4 separate regions of the Homo sapiens genome follow, and regions 1, 3 and 4 are each linked to region 2. The links are contacts of gene promoters, found by promoter capture Hi-C in blood cells and fetal thymus (Javierre and others, 2016). All regions are on one chromosome and are shown on one strand. Each heading gives the region's core, a stretch centred on a gene start or on the middle of the fragment in contact. The rest is flanking DNA. Distances are from core to core; before and after follow the strand shown. Region 1 holds the start of LINC01023 (long intergenic non-protein coding RNA 1023). Region 2 holds the start of PJA2 (praja ring finger ubiquitin ligase 2). Region 3 has its middle 46 kb from the start of LINC01023. Region 4 has its middle 86 kb from the start of LINC01023.

The links. Contacts are between HindIII fragments. The CHiCAGO score rates a contact against its expected background, and 5 or more counts as called.
Region 1: a contact is called between a fragment that was not itself captured here and the fragment with the promoter of PJA2 in region 2, in 1 of 17 cell types (total B cells). The highest score is 5.5, in total B cells.
Region 3: a contact is called between a fragment that was not itself captured here and the fragment with the promoter of PJA2 in region 2, in 1 of 17 cell types (naive B cells). The highest score is 7.2, in naive B cells.
Region 4: a fragment that was not itself captured here is called in contact with the fragment with the promoter of PJA2 in region 2 in 1 of 17 cell types (M0 macrophages); the score reaches 5.2 in M0 macrophages.

Annotation. Positions count from the first base shown.
Region 1 is chr5:108,725,185-108,729,452 of GRCh38, reverse strand. It overlaps LINC01023 (long intergenic non-protein coding RNA 1023), which reads left to right and starts at 1,192. Exons shown (of 1, transcript NR_046368.1): 1 at 1,192-1,628. RefSeq lists enhancers at 1,229-1,528, 1,368-1,949. The HindIII fragment of the contact is 9,255 bases long and covers 1-4,268 here.
Region 2 is chr5:109,408,519-109,412,694 of GRCh38, reverse strand. PJA2 (praja ring finger ubiquitin ligase 2) reads left to right here and starts at 2,721. Exons shown (of 10, transcript NM_014819.5): 1 at 2,721-2,853. RefSeq lists enhancers at 2,087-2,266, 3,377-3,496, 3,537-3,636 and a silencer at 2,777-2,856. The HindIII fragment of the contact is 12,845 bases long and covers 1-4,176 here.
Region 3 is chr5:108,680,115-108,684,755 of GRCh38, reverse strand. No RefSeq gene overlaps it. Among named protein-coding and RNA genes, the nearest start is that of LINC01023, 46 kb to the left of the region's middle. RefSeq lists an enhancer at 2,861-3,361. The HindIII fragment of the contact is 1,731 bases long and covers 1,982-3,712 here.
Region 4 is chr5:108,639,653-108,643,901 of GRCh38, reverse strand. No RefSeq gene overlaps it. Among named protein-coding and RNA genes, the nearest start is that of LINC01023, 86 kb to the left of the region's middle. RefSeq lists an enhancer at 1,280-1,574. The HindIII fragment of the contact is 3,742 bases long and covers 390-4,131 here.

The sequences.
Region 1 (4,268 bases), core at 1,758-4,257, 680 kb after region 2:
ATAAGTATTGCGAAATAGCTCTAAAATTTCCAGCTGAAAGTGAATTCCTTGGGGTTTTTCACCAGCCAGGGGCATCAACTTTTTTTTTTTTCTTCTTAAATTACCCATACCTCTTTGCTGGCCCATGCGAGAATTTTCTATCTATAACTGTCTAAACACAAAGCAACATTTGATTTCGGTATTCATATTTATCAGAGTACTCTTCAAAATAAGTGAAATTAGGCTTCTTTTTAAGCTGGGGAACCTGCAAACGGCTTTTGAATGAAGAATAAGCATATGAAGAAGTCATGCTTCACCATTTTGCTGTAATCTTCTAAACTGCCTTCATGACGTAGAAACTTCTAATTGCAGAACATTTAAGAATTATTGCATGTCACCTCAATAAACCTAATCATTGAAGTTTCTTTTTTAGCTGATAGTAGTACATTTGGAAATACACATACCCGTCAGTTCATTTTCTCTGGCCATTTCCGTTTACCTCATACAGGCGTTTCAAGTGCGATCTGTCGCAGTCACATTCAGAGATTTTGGCCCTAAGAACTGCTCATGTTTAATGTTTGTAGTTCCAACGGTTTAACTTTTTTTCTCTCTCTCTTTTTTTTTTGGTGTGTAATTATAAATGTCTGAATTAATTAGTTGAGTAGGCTACAGGGTAGATAATAGAGCTAGTGTTAGATCCTTTTTAAAGGTTTTTAGGTCTCTATGAAGGGGGGGCGGGGAAAGGCAGGCGGGGAGTCCCCACACCCCACACTCTGCCCAAAGGTTAGGAAATTGCGGTCAGGGGTTCCTTGCCTTGGCTTCCACCACCTGAAGGCGTCTACAGCAATAATTAGAATCGAAACCAAGGAAACAAGAAATAGCTGAAAATAAAACACGAACTAAGAAATGGTAGTTTATTTTCTTTTTGCCATGCAGCAAAGGAGGGTCGAATGTAAAGCTGATACAGTTGCTGGCTGAGCTTTTCCCGCGGCAGCCAGTGCGTGCTTCCTCCACTTCTTCGAGACTTCTCCGTGCTCCTGCCCCACCTCCCAGGCTGAAGATTCATGCAGGCCCTGCGCTTAGCCCAGACTCTGGCCAGGCCCGGCCCAGCCCGAAGGTGGGCGGCTCCCGGCGCAGGGCGGCCCAGCCCCAACCACTGAGAGGAGGACCCTCCGGCGTCCTAGAGTGGCCGCAGGCCGCGGCGTCGGGTTGGAAAACCAGGAGAGCATGGAGCTTTTTCGCTGGTCCGGCGCGGTCTCTTGCGTTCCTGTGGCGGGCACCTGACTCCCCATGCCCGAGTACTGTCCTCAGGCGGAACGGCGTCTGCAGCGAGGAGCGGGGTTCCAGCAGGCTCGGCTGACGCGGTCCCTGGCATTTCCCGTGCTGGCCCTGGGTCGCCCTCGATGCTGCTTCCCGCTGGGAGCCTCCTTCTGACGGCGGAAAGGAGCTTCACCTGGGGCGGCCGGCGGGGAACGGAGAAGAATCCACCGGGGAAGTGGACGGGGCTGGCTCCCGGGCCTGGCGCTGCGGCTCTCGGGCCGTCAGACCTCCCGCGGGTTGCGTCACTTTCCTCGGTTTTCTAGACAGCAGTTGTGGGGTTGAATCCTTGCCGTGGTTTTGTAAGAATTAAATGAGATAATGAACGCGAACACCAATCATTGCTCTTTGTTGGGTGCTTCCTGTGGGCCTGGCAATATTAACAACACGAGCTCATTCATGCATTCATTTGCTACTCAGTGACTTTCCTGTCAATACTGCAAGGTGCTGGAGATGAGCCCCCACTCTTTGGTCAGTAAAACTGCCAAGATCACCGACCTTGTGAAGACATTTGAGGATGAGAGGTTGGTTGGAGCCTGGACGTGGAGACAGACTCTAAATAGTTAACTACAAGACACATGTAATTACAACTTTGAGAGCTTATAGCGGGAGGCCCTTTTGGGAAGGGGGTGGAGATGGAGAAGAGGAAGAAAGAAAGGGCTTCCCTGAGGAAGTAATATTGCAGCTGTGACCTGACAGATGAGGCCGAACCAGCTAGACTCGTGTTTCAGGCCTCGGGAATAGCATAAGGACTCCAGCTGGCTCCTTCCGGGTTGAGTCCTTATGCTGAAATTGGTATTTGGCACACACCAGTAGTAGAACGCCACTCAATGCCTTATTCTCTTCCCCTTCTCTCAGCTCTGTCCCCTCCACATAGTAGGACAATGAAACTGGTAACTATTTTTGGTCCGAATAGTCCTTCCATTATTATCTGTTATAGTCCACCATGCAGGTTCTTCCTAACTCCTTTTGATCAAAATAGATATTTTTGAAAATGTGAAGAAAGCAGTATCGTATCTTGTATGGTTTCTCATTGCCTTCTAAGTCAGATATAAACAACGAACTTGCTTGAAATGTTCTCTATCAGACCAAGGACCCATATTTAATTCCAACTTACACTCTGCTACACCCTTTCGCTAAATTCTTTAGTTGATGTTAACTGCATTTGGAACCCTGTATTCAGCGTTGAATTGCACATTCTGAAGCAATTGTGTTCTTACTCAGCACGCTCATTTCTGTATCCCAAGTATCTCCCTGCCTCCAGAACATGTTTACTCTTTAACCACTTCCTGATAATACAGTAGGCTACCATTACTCTAAATAGTTGCAGTTATTGAATATAGGCACATTTTTAAATTATAAGAATCCTATCCCAATCCAAGGTACAATTTGCTGATCGCATACTGATTCATTTTCCTCCCACTCTGGGTCCTTTCATCTGCTGTTCTCCCAGTCCAGATGCCAGCCAGGCATTTGAGAACCATCTGATGGTAACAGGATGGAGGCTGACTCAACTTCACTCCACCACCTGCCTTCCTGCCTTCAGGGAGATTTTGTACATAGCTTATCCTTTAAGTTCTTCTGCTTGTTACTGCTCACAGCACTGTGATTCTACTTTAGGCACCTTCTGTACATTCATATTCATTACTTTTTTTCTCCTCTTTCCTGTTTATGGTTAGAAAGGTGCTTCACCAATCTATTTTAGAACCAAAGAAGAGATCAAATTATAATAACATGAGCATAGTATTATGCTATAGGATACTAGTAAGAAACTCAGTTCCTCCTCTTTGTTCCCATAATATTTTGTGAATATGTCTATGATAGTATTTAATACATTGCATTATGACTTGTTGTTTGTGTCATTCTCCACTTATTAATTAGACTTCTTTGAGGATAGAGATTGAGTTTTTAAATTTGTTTCTTCATTTGTTCTTTTACTTAGCTCAATGCCTGGCAAAAAAACAAATCATTGTTAAATCAGTTTTTAGGTGAAATAGGGATAAGTGGGAGGCTAACTTATCCAGTCTTTGAAAATGCCTAGCGATCCCCTTCAGAATCCTCACACATCATCATCAATCTTCTTACCCTGTAAATAAATATACTTTTCTCACACATTAAAGATATTTGTAAAATAAATTTATTCAGTTTTTTTTTCTATTGCAGTGATATGTGTGTGTATATATGTATATAGTTGTATTTAAACTAAACAGGAGAAAAGGAGCAAGCCTGTGAAGTATTATTTCCGCATTTACCAGCAAGACAATTATCTCAGAAGATTAAAATGTGAGAGATACAACTAGTGTTCAAACCCTGCTCTTTCTGATGCCACAGTCAATGTTCTTTCTTTGGTAGAAACCAAACTGTATTTTTCTTATTGTTCAAGTAATGTAATTAACTATGGAAAAATAAGAAATTACAGATTAACAAAATAAAGCAAAAGTAAGTAAAATTCATCCATGATTTCATCATTCTGAGCTAATAATTGTTAACATTTTTGTGAATACATATACATACACACACATTACATATGCACAGTTGTTTGGGGTTTTTTACAAAAAGGGAATCACACTAATTTTAATCTTTTATAATCTACTTTTTTGCTTAACAATATGTGATAACTCCTTGATTCATTTATTCATTTATTCTAAGGTTTTTCATCCTGGGCACTGTTTACATATCGGGCCAGGTACTTCCTTGTTATGGAGGGTGATAAAAATTCTTTGCTTGACCAAACTTTATTCAGGCTCCTGAACCTTCTCCTAGGCCTGTCTGTATACTTTCTTGTAAAATCAGATTTAGCAACAAACTGTTGAGTCAGTTTAGCAACTGCCCCCCATCACCCGCATCCTTGATATATGATCACCATCAATATGTTCCTCATCCTCCAACATCCCTTAGACGAAATCTAATAACCCTAGCCTGTCATAAGCAAGAATCCTGTTAGGTTGTGTTAGCCAGAACCCTCCTTACCC
Region 2 (4,176 bases), core at 1,472-3,971:
CTGAGGTTGAACCTGAGAATTTGCATTTTATGTATTTATTTATTTTTTATTTTTATTTTTTTGAGACAGTCTCACTCTGTCACCTAGGCCGGAGTGCAGTGGCGTGATCTCTGCTCACTACAGCCTCTGCCTACTGGGTTCAAGGGATTCTCCTGCTTCAGCCTCCCGAGTAGATGGGACTACAGGCATGTGCCACCACGCCCAGCTAATTTTTGTATTTTTGGGTACAGACAGGATTTCACTATGTTGGCCAGGCTGGTCTTGAACTCCTCAAGTGATCTGCCCACCTCAGCCTCCCAAAGTGCTGGGATTACAGGCATGGGCCACCACGCCTTGCCAGAATTTGCATTTTTAAAAAGTTCCTAAGTAATGCTGATGCTGTTGGTGTAGGGATTATAATATACTTTAGGAACCACTGCAGTATATCATGTAGTACCTTCAATCCATTGCCTTAGATAGTGCTTCCCAACCCTGGAATCAACAATAATACATATAAGCGAATAATACATACTATTATCTCTATATAGTAATACAATACATAAGCTAATATGTATTTAGTACTTCATTGTAGGTATGATATGCTTTACATTGATTAGGTTATTTAATCTATACAACTCATGAATTGGTATTATTACTTTCCCATATTTATAATAAACTGGAAATCGAGGTCAGAGAACAAAGTAGATTGCCCAGAGGCACACGGCTACAAATGCAGGAGCCAGTATGTGAATATGTCTGCTTGATTCTAGAGTACAGGCTTTTTCAGCCTCCATACCAGTGTTTCTCATAGTAACATAGATCACTTATGATGCCTTGGTTAACTGTAGTTGGGACACGCATGCAGGATTAAAAACAATGACTCATATAGTGAGAAAGTGATTGCTATTCCGGCTCTATTTTTTCTATCCTTTGATGACATCATGATAAAAATACCATTTGAGTGCTGTATCTTTAATGTGTGTCTAATGCTTGGTAGCTTGCCCTTTTAACAAAGACAGTTGTCTTTAGACTTAGAGCCTTTAGTGGACAACAGTTTCTAGCCACAATTTAAAAACATTGTTTTGCATTCATTTTTCTTACAGTTACTTTCAACTTATAATAGGTGATGCTAGTTTTCCATTTATAGTACTTTTATAAAGTCTCCTTCTTAAAGAAATTAAAGAAAATATACATTTATTTAAAGAAAAAAGGACAGTGAGTAGTATACACAGATACAGTATGAAAAAGGTTGAAATTTGGGAATCCCTGCCTTCTAGAACAGGTTAATGTATCCAGTTGGGCCAATCTGGAACACCCTAAAGGGAAACTAGGGAAATGTAATTAAAATATGAATTTTGTTTTTTTTCAAAGAGGTACTTGGATGGTTAAAGTCAGAACTCCTATAGCAACACGTGTGAAGGCAGAGTAATATCAAGCAAGGAATGGTTTTTTGGTAAGAAACGTACTACAGGAGTGGGCTGGGATTCAGATTGGATTTCACAAAATGTCTGGCAAATTCTCATAAACCTAAATTTCTACAGTAAATTTTGGGTAATTTATTTCCATCAACAGCAAAAAAAAATTAGTCTCAGTTCACTGGCAAGAGAGTTCGCTGTTGTTAAGGGGACAGCACAAGAAGTGGGGCTCTTAATTCGCGGGGGAGGGGTGGCGATGAATATATCCTGGGCATCAGGCGACGGGTCGGGGGTGGGGAATAAGAGAAGACAGAGGGACTGTAATCAGATAAGCGGACACGTTTCAAGATGAATAAAGGGAATATGTGCGGAACGAAGAAACAGTTTTGTATCACTGACATAATTAACTAAACTGTTACCCAGGTTTAAATTAAGCAAGGTGTCCGGGGACTGCAGCTGTTGTATTTATTTTGGTTGCATGTGATGGGAGCTGTTACTTCCCGGCTTGACAAACAGCCTCAAGATGCAAGCTGGGAGGCTGTGGTCAGCCCAAGGCTATACAGAGGAAAGGCAGGCCTCCTCTGAACCCCGCCCCAGCAGAATAAGAAGCGAGGGGCAAGGGTCAGCGCGGAGAGGGAGGGTGGAAAGCGCCATATAGTGCCCAGGGTCAGGGTGGGTAAACAAGCCTTTCTTCGTGTCATTTTTTTTTTTTGTCTCACCGATATCTGCATTGTAACTGAACTTTATGCCAGGAGACCTTAACCTTGTTAATCAGGTTTCCAGTCGAATCAGGATCGATTTTAATGCCTCCATTTTGGTTGTTGCTGTTGGAATTTCCGAAAAAGCCTAACTGCGCCAGTCTTTCTGTTAGTTCTCCACACCCCCTTCCCTTTCCGAGACCCCGCCCTTTTCTCTCAGCCCAAACCACAAAAGGCCGCGCAGTTTTAGCTCCTACACGGTGCTCCGCCCCCTCCCCAAACGTCGCAGTACTGCAGGGAAAGGAGGTGGGCTCGGCTGGGGCGGGGGACTGAGTCGGCTTCGTCTTTCCGCTCTTCAGCCAATTGGTGAACTCCCCCTGAGGGAGATGGGGGAGCAGGCTGTAGAGAAGGTCCAAGTATTTTTCCCTTTTTCTGCCACGTCCCAACCATTGACGTGAGCCCACTCCTCAGGTTCTGATTGGGCGTATGCATTGTCCCCCAGCAGAGACCCTGTAAGCTGACTGGTCATCTCTGCTATGGGGGAGGGGCTTGCGTACTCTCCTCCTTCGCCTCCACCGCGGCGCAAGGGGCGGGACTCACCGCCACCGCCTCTGCTTCCGCCGCCGCCACCGCCGCCGCCGCCGCCACAGCCGCCAGCCGCTTCGCGTTCGGCGGGGGAGGAGTTGGAGGCGGAGAAGAAGGCGGTGGTGGCGGGTGGAGGTTCGAGCGCTGTTCTCGCTCCGGAGCCGCTGCACATTTCGGTGAGGGTTTTTTTTTTTTTTTTTCAGTCTGGCTTGTTCCGCTGTCGGGAGTGTGGGGGTCGGGGCGAGGAAATTGCTGCGTTCAGCTCCTCAGTTTCTCTGTCTCTAGCTTCGGAAGGAGCGGGGCTTGTCCCTGGCCTGCTGCGCCGGCCATGGTGGGTGGGGTTGATGGCTGTGGGAGGCCTTCTTCGCCTCCTGGGCCCTGTCCAGCCCGGACCCGGGCCGCGCTCCTATCCGGGACGGTCGCGCCCGCCGCCCCCCGACAGATGACATTGGTTGGTATCGGGGTCTTCGCTGCCGCTCTTTACTGCTGCCTCTTCTGCTGTCCTTGGTGACTTGGCCAAGGAGCCCGCTGGCTTTCCCCTACACTCGCCACTGTACAAGAGTTTGCCCCCCAACCAACACCTCACACCCACCTTCTGCGGTTTCCCGTCACCCCGCGTAGAGCGGAACCATCTTACGCCACAGGCCTGCAGCACCCCTCCCCCGAGGAGCCTTCTGTTGCCGTCGTTTTGCTGGGCGTCTGCATTTTCCCCGATTGTCAGTGAGGCTCGGCACGCAGACACCCCGCTCGAGCCGCAGCAGTCGCTCTACTCCCGGGATCAGCACCTTTCCGCCAGGGCTGCTCTCAGTTAGCGATGTCAGGCCAGAGCTCCTCTTGCAGATGCACCTTTAATTTGGCCTCCCTCAGATGACTGGTAATCATTTTGCGCACATTCAAAATGGTGAGGTTAAAGACGCTCAGACCAAGTTGAAGCAAAGGGGAGGTGGTAAATAGTCGTTTTGCAGGGAGGAGAGTAATCTGAGAGTTCCTTCTCCGGACATTAAAAAAAAAAAAATTTACATCCGCATAGGCGCTTCTTTTGAGTCTGCTGGTTCTGTGAAGTTTAAAATTTTCATTGCAGGCTTAATGTATTCTGTTTTATCATGAAATATTTGGTCACATTTCTTTAAAATGGCAGTCACCTTTGCTGAAGGCTACGGATCATTTGAAGTGTATGTGAATAAACCTGAGGATAACAGTAATAAACGTTTAAACTGTATTTTTCAGTGTTGTAATTGTCTTTTGGGGTTCATGTCATTTTTATATGAGATGACCACTTAATTTTAAAAATTCATTGCAGACATGCAAGTTTGATGTACACTTCAACAATATAAATAACGGACTGTTAGGTAAAATTTAAATATTTCTTTTCATCCCCCAGTCCCACTCCAGTGTAAAGTTGACAGTTTAGTGTTCATTTTTCAAAATCTTGCAAATGCACTTCTAGACACATACAAGTACACGTAAAGTTTTTTTTTTTGAGGGAGGCTATACCATAT
Region 3 (4,641 bases), core at 1,598-4,097, 730 kb after region 2:
GATTGGTGTACCTGAAAGTGACGGGGAGAATGGAACCAAGGTGGAAAACACACTTCAGGATATTATCCAGGAGAACTTCCCCAACCTAACAAGGCAGGCCAACATACAAATTCAGGAAATACAGAGAACAACACAAAGATATTCCTCGAGAAGAGCAACCCCAAGACACATAATCGTCAGATTCACCAAGGTTGAAATGAAGGAAAAAATGTTAAGTGCATCCAGAGAGAAAGGCTGGGTTCATAACCCTTAAAGATAGAAACATTTCCCCTCTGTAGGTGGCTCCTAAAACCCTGGACATTTTACATACTGGAGTCAGATTCAAAAATAAACTATTTCCTTATATACCTGCCTCCTTTTTGAAATAACGTTCCTTATTTTTCTTATCACCAGATATGGTTGCTGTTTTTTTCCCTCAATTTGATCATTTGTTTTCCCTCTGGGACATAAAAGTTGTGATGAGGACTGGAAGTGGGATCTATAAACTGACTAGCACAGAGCCTAGCACTTGACATCCATTCAGTCAGTGCAAAGACAGCTGCATTCTTTCATCAAAAGACCAATACATTTCTATAATACATATGCAAAGAAAGTTTTAACTTTTAAGCCTTTTTTTCACAGCTTGAGAAGACAATATAAATTTTCTTTTTAAAATATAAATAAGAGAAGAACTATAGCTTAAACAGGAAAGACTTTTAAAATCCCACGTAACAAGAATGGTGGTGTAAATAATTATCATGGACACAGTTCTGTGGGTCAAGAGTCTGGGCACAGCAATTGCTCAACTGGGTCTTCTACTCAGGGTTTAGCAGAGCTGAAATCAAGGCATCAGCAGGACAGGGCTCATCTGGAGGCTCTTGAGGAGATTCTGCTTTCCAGCGCATTCAGTTTGTTGGCAGAATTCAGTTTCTTTTTTTTCTTTTTTTTTTTTTTGAGACATTGTCTTGCTCTGTCGCCCAGGCTGGAGTGCGGTGGCACGATCTCGGCTCACTGCAAGCTCCGCCTCCCACGTTCACGCCATTCTCCCGCCTCAGACTCCTGAGTAACTGGGACTACAGGTGCCCGCTGCCATGCCCGGCTAATTTTTTGTATTTTTAATAGAGATGGGGTTTCACCGTGTTAGCTAGGATGATCTCAATCTCCTGACCTCATGATCTGCCTGCCTCGGCCTCCCAAAGTGTTGGGATTACAGGCGTGAGCCACTGCACCCTGCCAGAATTCAGTTTCTTGAGGTTATAGGACTGAGGTTGCCATTTCCTTGACATGGTTACCTTAATCTTCAAGTTAACAGCAGCACTTTTAATCCTTTTCATCTTGGAATATCTGACTTTATCTTCTACTACTAGCTGGAAAAATATCTCTGCTTTTAAGAGCTCACGTGATTCCATTGGGCCTACTTGGATAAGCCAATATAACCTTCCATTTTAGGTCAGCTGATTAGTAACCTTAATTACACCTGTCAAGTCCATTCTGCCATGTAAAGTAACATATTCACAGGAGTGACTCCAGAGGGAGAAGGTCATGAGGCCCAACATTCTGCCTACCACAGATGGGTTTGGAATATATTTCATAGGTGGAAGTGGAAAGATTGGCTTCAAAAAGTATTTAACATCATATCTAATGAGACATTTATCCCTTATCTAGAAACTTCTTCTTTTTTCTTTTCTTTTCTTTTTTTTTTTTGAGACAGGATCTCAGTCTGTTGCCCAGGCTGGAGTAAAGTGGTATGATCATGATCACGGCTCACTGTAGCCTCAACCTGCTGGGCTCAAGCGATTCTCCCATCTCAGCCTCCCAAGTTGCTGGGACCACAGGTACCCATCACCATGCCTGGCTATTTAAAAATTTTTTTGTGTGGAAATAGGGCCTCCTTCTTTTGCCCAGGCTGGCGCTGAACTCCTAGGCTCAAGCAATCCTCCCACTTCAGCCTCTCAGAGTATTGGGGTTACAGGCATGAGCCACCACACCTGGCCTAGAAGCTTCTTTGAGGCCCCAATCATTTCCTTGAGTTCTCCCCTTCATCAGTCCCCAAATATCCTACTTGAGATCTTTGGGTGTGCAGAAAGAAGAGAAAGACAACTATCACTCAAGAAAAAATTTGAATTTGGGAATAAGAATTGTAGTTTGTGAGGCAAAAAACATGATGAAATGAAGCAGGAATTTGTGAGTGTGGAGGTCACTTTTCCTGTGGCTCTCCTTCTGCCTGGGTGTGCTGGCATGAAGGAAGCAGAAGAAATGAGTAAAGAGAAAAATAATCTGGGACTTGGGGTCATACATGATATGTGAGGAGGAGAAACCAGAAGCATTTCATATTAAAAAAGGTAAAACAGCAAAGAAGATCCAGAAAGCCCTAAGCAGGAAGGGAACAAATAAAGGCAGAGACAATGTTAAGGCCACACAATATCATTGACTAACTAACTGCTTTAGGAAAAAAAAATTATTAATATGTGTACATTTTAAAAAGAAACCATTTTCATAGAAGACATAATCTCACTACTTAGAATCAACCCTGTAATTTCCTAATGATAGTCAAGTATTTACCAAGTTCCTTGTCAAGTACGTTATATGCATATATACATACAAACATTGGAGGGAGGGGCTGTTATTATTTTTTATTTTATTTTATTTGTTTTTGAGACGGAGTTTTGCTCTTGTAGCCCAGGCTGGAATGCAGTGGCGTGATCTCGGCTCACTGCAACCTCCATCTCCCGGGTTCGAGTGATTCTCTTGCCTCAGCCTCCCAAGTAGTTTGGATTACAGGCACCTGCCACCACGCGTGGCTAATTTTTTTTTTTTTTTTTTTTTTTTTTTTGTATTTTTAGTAGAGACGGGGTTTCACCATGTTGGGCAGGCTGGTTTCAAACATCTGACCTCAGGTGATCTGCCCGCCTTGGCCTTCCAAAGTGCTGGGATTGCAAGCATGAGCCACCACGCCCGGCTGAGGATGTTATTTTTAGAAGGAAAAGGCCACATTGAAAACTGAGTGGACAGCTTGATAAATCTAAGATAGGAAAATTTTGCTGAACCAAAGGACCTTTTGGAGTGTTCTATTTTTTCTCACAAGCCCAGGACCTCTGCAAAAAACATCCAAAACTACTATAGAAAATGCACATTTTATTCTACTGTTTCTTCCAGCAGATGTGGATTTTTAGCGAGGAGCAATTTCACGTTCTTGGTCCAAATTTTAAAACTGCTAGGTCACTGTGTAAGAAACAGTTGACTAGGTTTTGCTTTCCATTGCCTTGGACCAGCTAAAACAATTGTGCCCTCTAGCCTATGAAGTCTGTACTGCAAAGGCCATTTCAACAGTGTTTGCTTCAGGTTTATCCTCAATTTTGGTTCTTGAAATCAAAAGTCATAAAAAAATATGGTAGAGATTCACAAAGACCTCTCCAGTTTTCTCTTTCAGTTGTAAATAACAGAATAACTAAAATGAAAACAGCTTAAACAGTGAAGACTTTTAAAACCCCACATAACAAGAATTGTGTAATAATGTAATGGTGTAAGTAAAGCAATTAATCTCACTTGGGTGCATAAACTGACTATTGTGAGGTTCATTTACTTCCTTAGCTCTACCAGAAAAACAAAGTAACTATACTACACTTTTGTCTTCATATTTTAAAAACCTTACCTATTATAGGAAAATATTCCCTAAAATATTGCTAAGTAGGAAGGTATTGATCATTTCCTAATAAAGGCACACGACTAAGCTTATACTGATAAAGTCCGGAAGTTGCCTGCTTGACCTTTATTAATCACCTGGCATTTAGGATACTGATTTTTTTAAAGCTACATTTTAGTCAGTTAAAGCCACCTCAGCATCTTTAAAGAATGCTTTGATTTGATCTATTTCTACTTTTTCTTTGAGGAAATCAAGCTGGGAGTTCTGAGAGCACATTCTGTTTGCTTATTTGTTCCTTTTATCCCTTTCTGTCCTCTCTGCATGCTAGGGCACACCTCACCTTGAAAAGAACTCATCAGCCGCCCTCAAGATGGGAATTGCAATGCCTTCATCTTGAGCCACTTTTAACAGAGTTTCATTTTTTTTCTGCTTTGATTTTGAATAGTGCCTATGTTTGAACACACTAAACACATTTTGGCCAAGTTTCCTTCATAGAGTTGGAATTCAGATTGGTTGTCAGGTTATTTAAAATAACTTTCTGTCTGGATTGGATCACTGTTAATTGCTCTGATCAACTGCAGTACATGGTTAAGGTAAAAAAAAAATATTGAGAAGAGACCCCCAGTCAATCTGATCTTACTTCATAGACACAGACAAATGATGAATTTATGTTAGTTAGGGAGGCCAAGGAAGGAAGAGGAGACATCATTAAAGAGTAAATGTTTCCAGCATTAGTTTCTGGGTCATTAAGCCCTAATGATTGATCTTATTTGGTTATTTTAAAGGCTACTGGAAACTAAAATGGAAACAGTTCAGAATACTTCCTTTGTATACAGAAGATTTTGTTCATGGCAACAGCTATGTGTGCCTAAACATTTTGTGTCACACAAACTCCTGCATTTGACATTTCTATCAGAGAGAACAAATAAAAATCATCCTAGAGCTTTCAAACACTCAAGCCATGTTGGGGCTTTGAAAGATCTTGTCATTTCAGAAGTGAAGAAATGGGGATGCTCTCA
Region 4 (4,249 bases), core at 1,011-3,510, 770 kb after region 2:
CTGAACAGATCAATATAGTTAAGCGCATTACCATAATCCACAGACATTAAAACGTCAATACCTCATTCCCCTGACAAAGCTTATATCAACAGAAGGCCCCATGGCACAAGAGATAGATTCATTAGGCTTTCACCTCTGGGAATGGGTTTCAACAAGCTTAGGTCACTTACAAAGATGAGTTTCATGGTCTTAACTTTGCCAAACTTCGTTTATTAGTATTTGGGCTCCAATTATAATCCAATCAAGCCAATAACTTTTCCTTACGAAAGGGACATTCTCCACATGCATCCCATCAAATGCATAATGTCAACATGAGAATTTATTTGAGCTGTGTGTGACCAGTCTCCTGTTCTACTAAAAATACTTGCAAACATTTAGACTGAGAAGCTTTGCATATAACCACATCAGTATGTTAATCCAAGACATGACGAATCATCATTATTTTATTTTTTTTAGAAACAGGGTCTTGTTCTGTTGCTCAGACTGGAGTCCAGTGGCACAATCTTAGCTCACTGCAGCCTCAAACTCCCGGGCTCAAGCAATCCTCTTGGTTCAGCCTACCAAATAGCTGGGACTACAGGCACAAGACACCATACCTGGCTAATTTTTAATAATTTTTTTAGAGATGGAGTCTCACTACGTTGCCTTGATCTTGAATTCCTGGCCTCGAGCCATCCTCCTGCCTCAGCCTCCCAAAGCACTGAGATTACAGCCACCACACCTGGCCTCTTGAAGAATTTTAAAACTCAGTGAGTATTTCTTGGGCACCTACTGTGTGCCTGGCACTGTTCAGGACACTGGAGACATAGTGGTGTGCACAAAAGACTAGGAGTTTATATTGTAGCTGAGGAGACAGATAAGGAAACATGTACATGAAGTCATCTCACGTAACTAACTATAGATGCTGGGAAGAAAACAGACATGATAATGTGATGTGGGGACACACGAGGTAGGGTGGTGAGAGAAGTTTCTGAGGAGTTGGATCCACTGTGTAAAGAAAGTGGCCATGCAGGAAGTTAAGGGAAAGGTGCCCTAGATATAAAGAATAGCAAGTGTGATTGCCTTGAGGTGAGAATGAGTTTGTTTATATAAGGAATAGAAATCAGGCCATGGGGGCCTTAAAGTCAGAGAGGTTGGCAGGAACCAGATCATGCAGAGCCTTCCTGGCTGTGGTAAGAGACTTGGGGAGTCACTGGAGGGTTTAAATGAGAGAAGTGACATTACTATTATTGTTATTTTATTTTATTTTAAATTTTACTACTTACCATTATCATTAATTATGACTCATTTTTTAAAAGTAAAAATTGTTCATGCTATGGCAGGGATTCTCAACAGGGGGTGATTTTTGCCTCCTGGGGACATTTGTCCATGCCTGGAGACAGCTTCAGTTGTCACACTGGGGAGTGCTACTGACATCTAGTGGGCAAAGGCCAAAGATGCTGCTAAACAGCCTACCATGTCTGGACTACCCCCTACAACAAAGAAATAGGCAGCCTAAACTGTCCGTCGTGACGTGCTTGAGAAACCCTGAGCTATGGCAGGGAGAATGGAGAACTGGAGAAGGGGAAAGAGTGGAAGCAGGAGGCTGGAGCAGAAACTCAGAAGAAATGTTGGTTATTTGGACTGGAACGGTAGCAGCAGGGCTGGAGAGAGTGACTCAGGATACATTTTGGAGATAAAGCTGATAGGACCTGTCAGTCAGTTAGCTGTGGAAAGTAAAGGAAAAGGAGTCAAGGGTTACTCTCATATTTTCAGTCGGAGCAACTGGGTAGACAGTAAGGTCATTTACCAAGATGGGGCACAATATGCGAGGAATAGGTTGAGAGGGGAAGATCAAGAATATTGTTTTGGACACATTAAATATGAACTCTGTTAAACTTCCCTGTGGAGATATCAAATAAGGGCTGAATATATGGTTCTGAAACTAAGGGTAAGGGCCAGTTATCAGCAGGTAGATTAGGGGACAAAGTGAGGAAGAAGATCCAGTGGTGGGGACCAGGAGAGGGAGGTTAGGAAACCAGGAAACTACAGTGCCCTGGAAGCCATGGGGGAAAGGATTTGAAGAATGGTGCTGTTATCTGTGTTGAATGTTTCTGAGGAGCCAGTGAGGTAAGAGCAAAAAATAACCCCAGAATTTGGGTGTCCTGGCTGGCTTTCGTCAAGGCAGTCATGACACAGACTATCACAGCTTTGTTGGAGTGGACAGGATTGAGTTCTGATTGAAGTGGGCTTCAGAGAGCAAGGGGGTGTAGGAAATGTAATCAAAGAATATTACTTCTTTCAGTAAATATTGATGAAAAGAGAATCAGAGAAATAAGGCAGTAACAGAATTCCAATTATAGAACAACACAAAAAGTGTTATTTTAAAAAACAGGGTTCTTTTTTTGTAAGTCCCAATTTGTGACATTTACTTATGAAATTAACCAATAGAATTTAAATGAATATTTTCGTGGTGTTGCAGGTGTTGGTAAATAACACATGCATTTCATTCAAATTAGAACTCTGTTTTATAAATGAAATTCCAATAAAATTTTCTAGAACCACTGAAAAACCACTAAAACTTTAGAATGGTAATTTTTGGAAGAATGCATTTGGAAAACCACTATACAAAATTAGCTTTAACAGCAAAATTTCATACATCAATCAGTCAGTAGGGTAATAAACTTATACTCACAATAGGCCTTTCTCTTGGCCCTGAAATTATAGCAAGATTTCAATCCTGTTTTTTTTTTTTAATCCTGTTTTGTTTGTTTGTTTGTTTGTTTGTTTGTTTGTTTTGGAGATGGAGTTTCACTCTTGTTGCCCAGGCTGGAGTGCAATCTTGGCTCACTGCAACCTCTGCCTCCCAGATTCAAGCAATTCTCTTGCCTCAGCCTCCTGAGTAGCTGGGATTACAGGCATGTGCCATCACACCCGGCTAATTTTTGTGTTTTTAGTAGAGACGGGGTTTCTCCATGTTGGTCAGTCTGGTCTGGAACCCTTGACCTCAGGTGATCCGCCCACCTTGGCCTCCCAAAGTGCTGGGATTACAGGCATGAGCCACTGCGCCCAGCCAAGATTTTAATCCTGTTGCTGTCACTTCTTAGCTGTTTGACCTTGAGCAAGTTACTTAACCTCTTGACATGAAAGATTCTCCATTTATAAACCAGTCAAGGTGAGTGTGAAGACTAAATGAAATAATATATGCAAACATGTGTCCGGCATGGGGTCCACATTCTCCTTCTTTCTGGCACCTCCACTTTAGCACTCTCTGACCAAAGTTAGCCTTGCAATGACTCTGTGGAACATGACATACAGCAAAGTTGATCATCATGGGAGGCTCTGGCTCTGGTTTTGTCCTCAGCTCACCTGTGATATCTTTGTACCTCATCTAGCACACATCCAGACCCAGAATGGGCTTTGCAAACAACGGATGCCTATTACCTTGAAGCATCTAAATGATGTAAAACCAAGGAAAGATTTGTTTTTGTGGTTTTTGGATTTTGGTGTATGAGATATTATAGAAAACTAAATATGTAAGCTGTGACAACTTCAATGAGAGAATGCCAGCAAATTTTTAGATTAGGGTTTAGACACAGCCAGGACCATAAAATAGTTACTTTTCCCCAATCTTTCAATCACAAATAGAAGGTTTTTCAAAGGAAGGAAGGTAAAAAAGACCAATAATAATAATAATAATAATAATAATAATAACTCTTGGATTATTTACACTAGTAGAAGTGAAAAAAGTACTTTCAAATTAAAAAAATTTCACTGACCTAATATTGAGATTGTTGAAGAGAAAAGAACTTATTTGTTGATTTGTATTCTCTTTTCAGTAATGGGGACTGCTAAAAGAAATCCATACAGGAGACAAGGAAATTATATTAATGAAATCTTTGTATAATTTAAGCTAAGCAATCATCTCCAGTACACCAAACCACAGGCTTCCTGTACTCATCAGTCCAGACGAATGACATATTCACAAATGTATCATTAGAGTTAGCAAGAGGTTTCTTGTTTTGTTCTTTATTTTTAGACATTGCTAGGGAATATTTATTTCTGTGCAATTCCTAAATTCTGTTAAGTCTTCAACTGATTTAAATGAACAAAAGACATCACTAAGTCATAGCCTAGAATTGGAAGGAAGCTTAAAAAAGCCAGAGGCCCAACTACTCCTCAGCAATGTTCATAACCACTGGTCATCCAGGCCTCCAATTCAACTCTCTAGAGATTTAGAAGTGACTGTTGAACTAGGCAGCCCATGCTG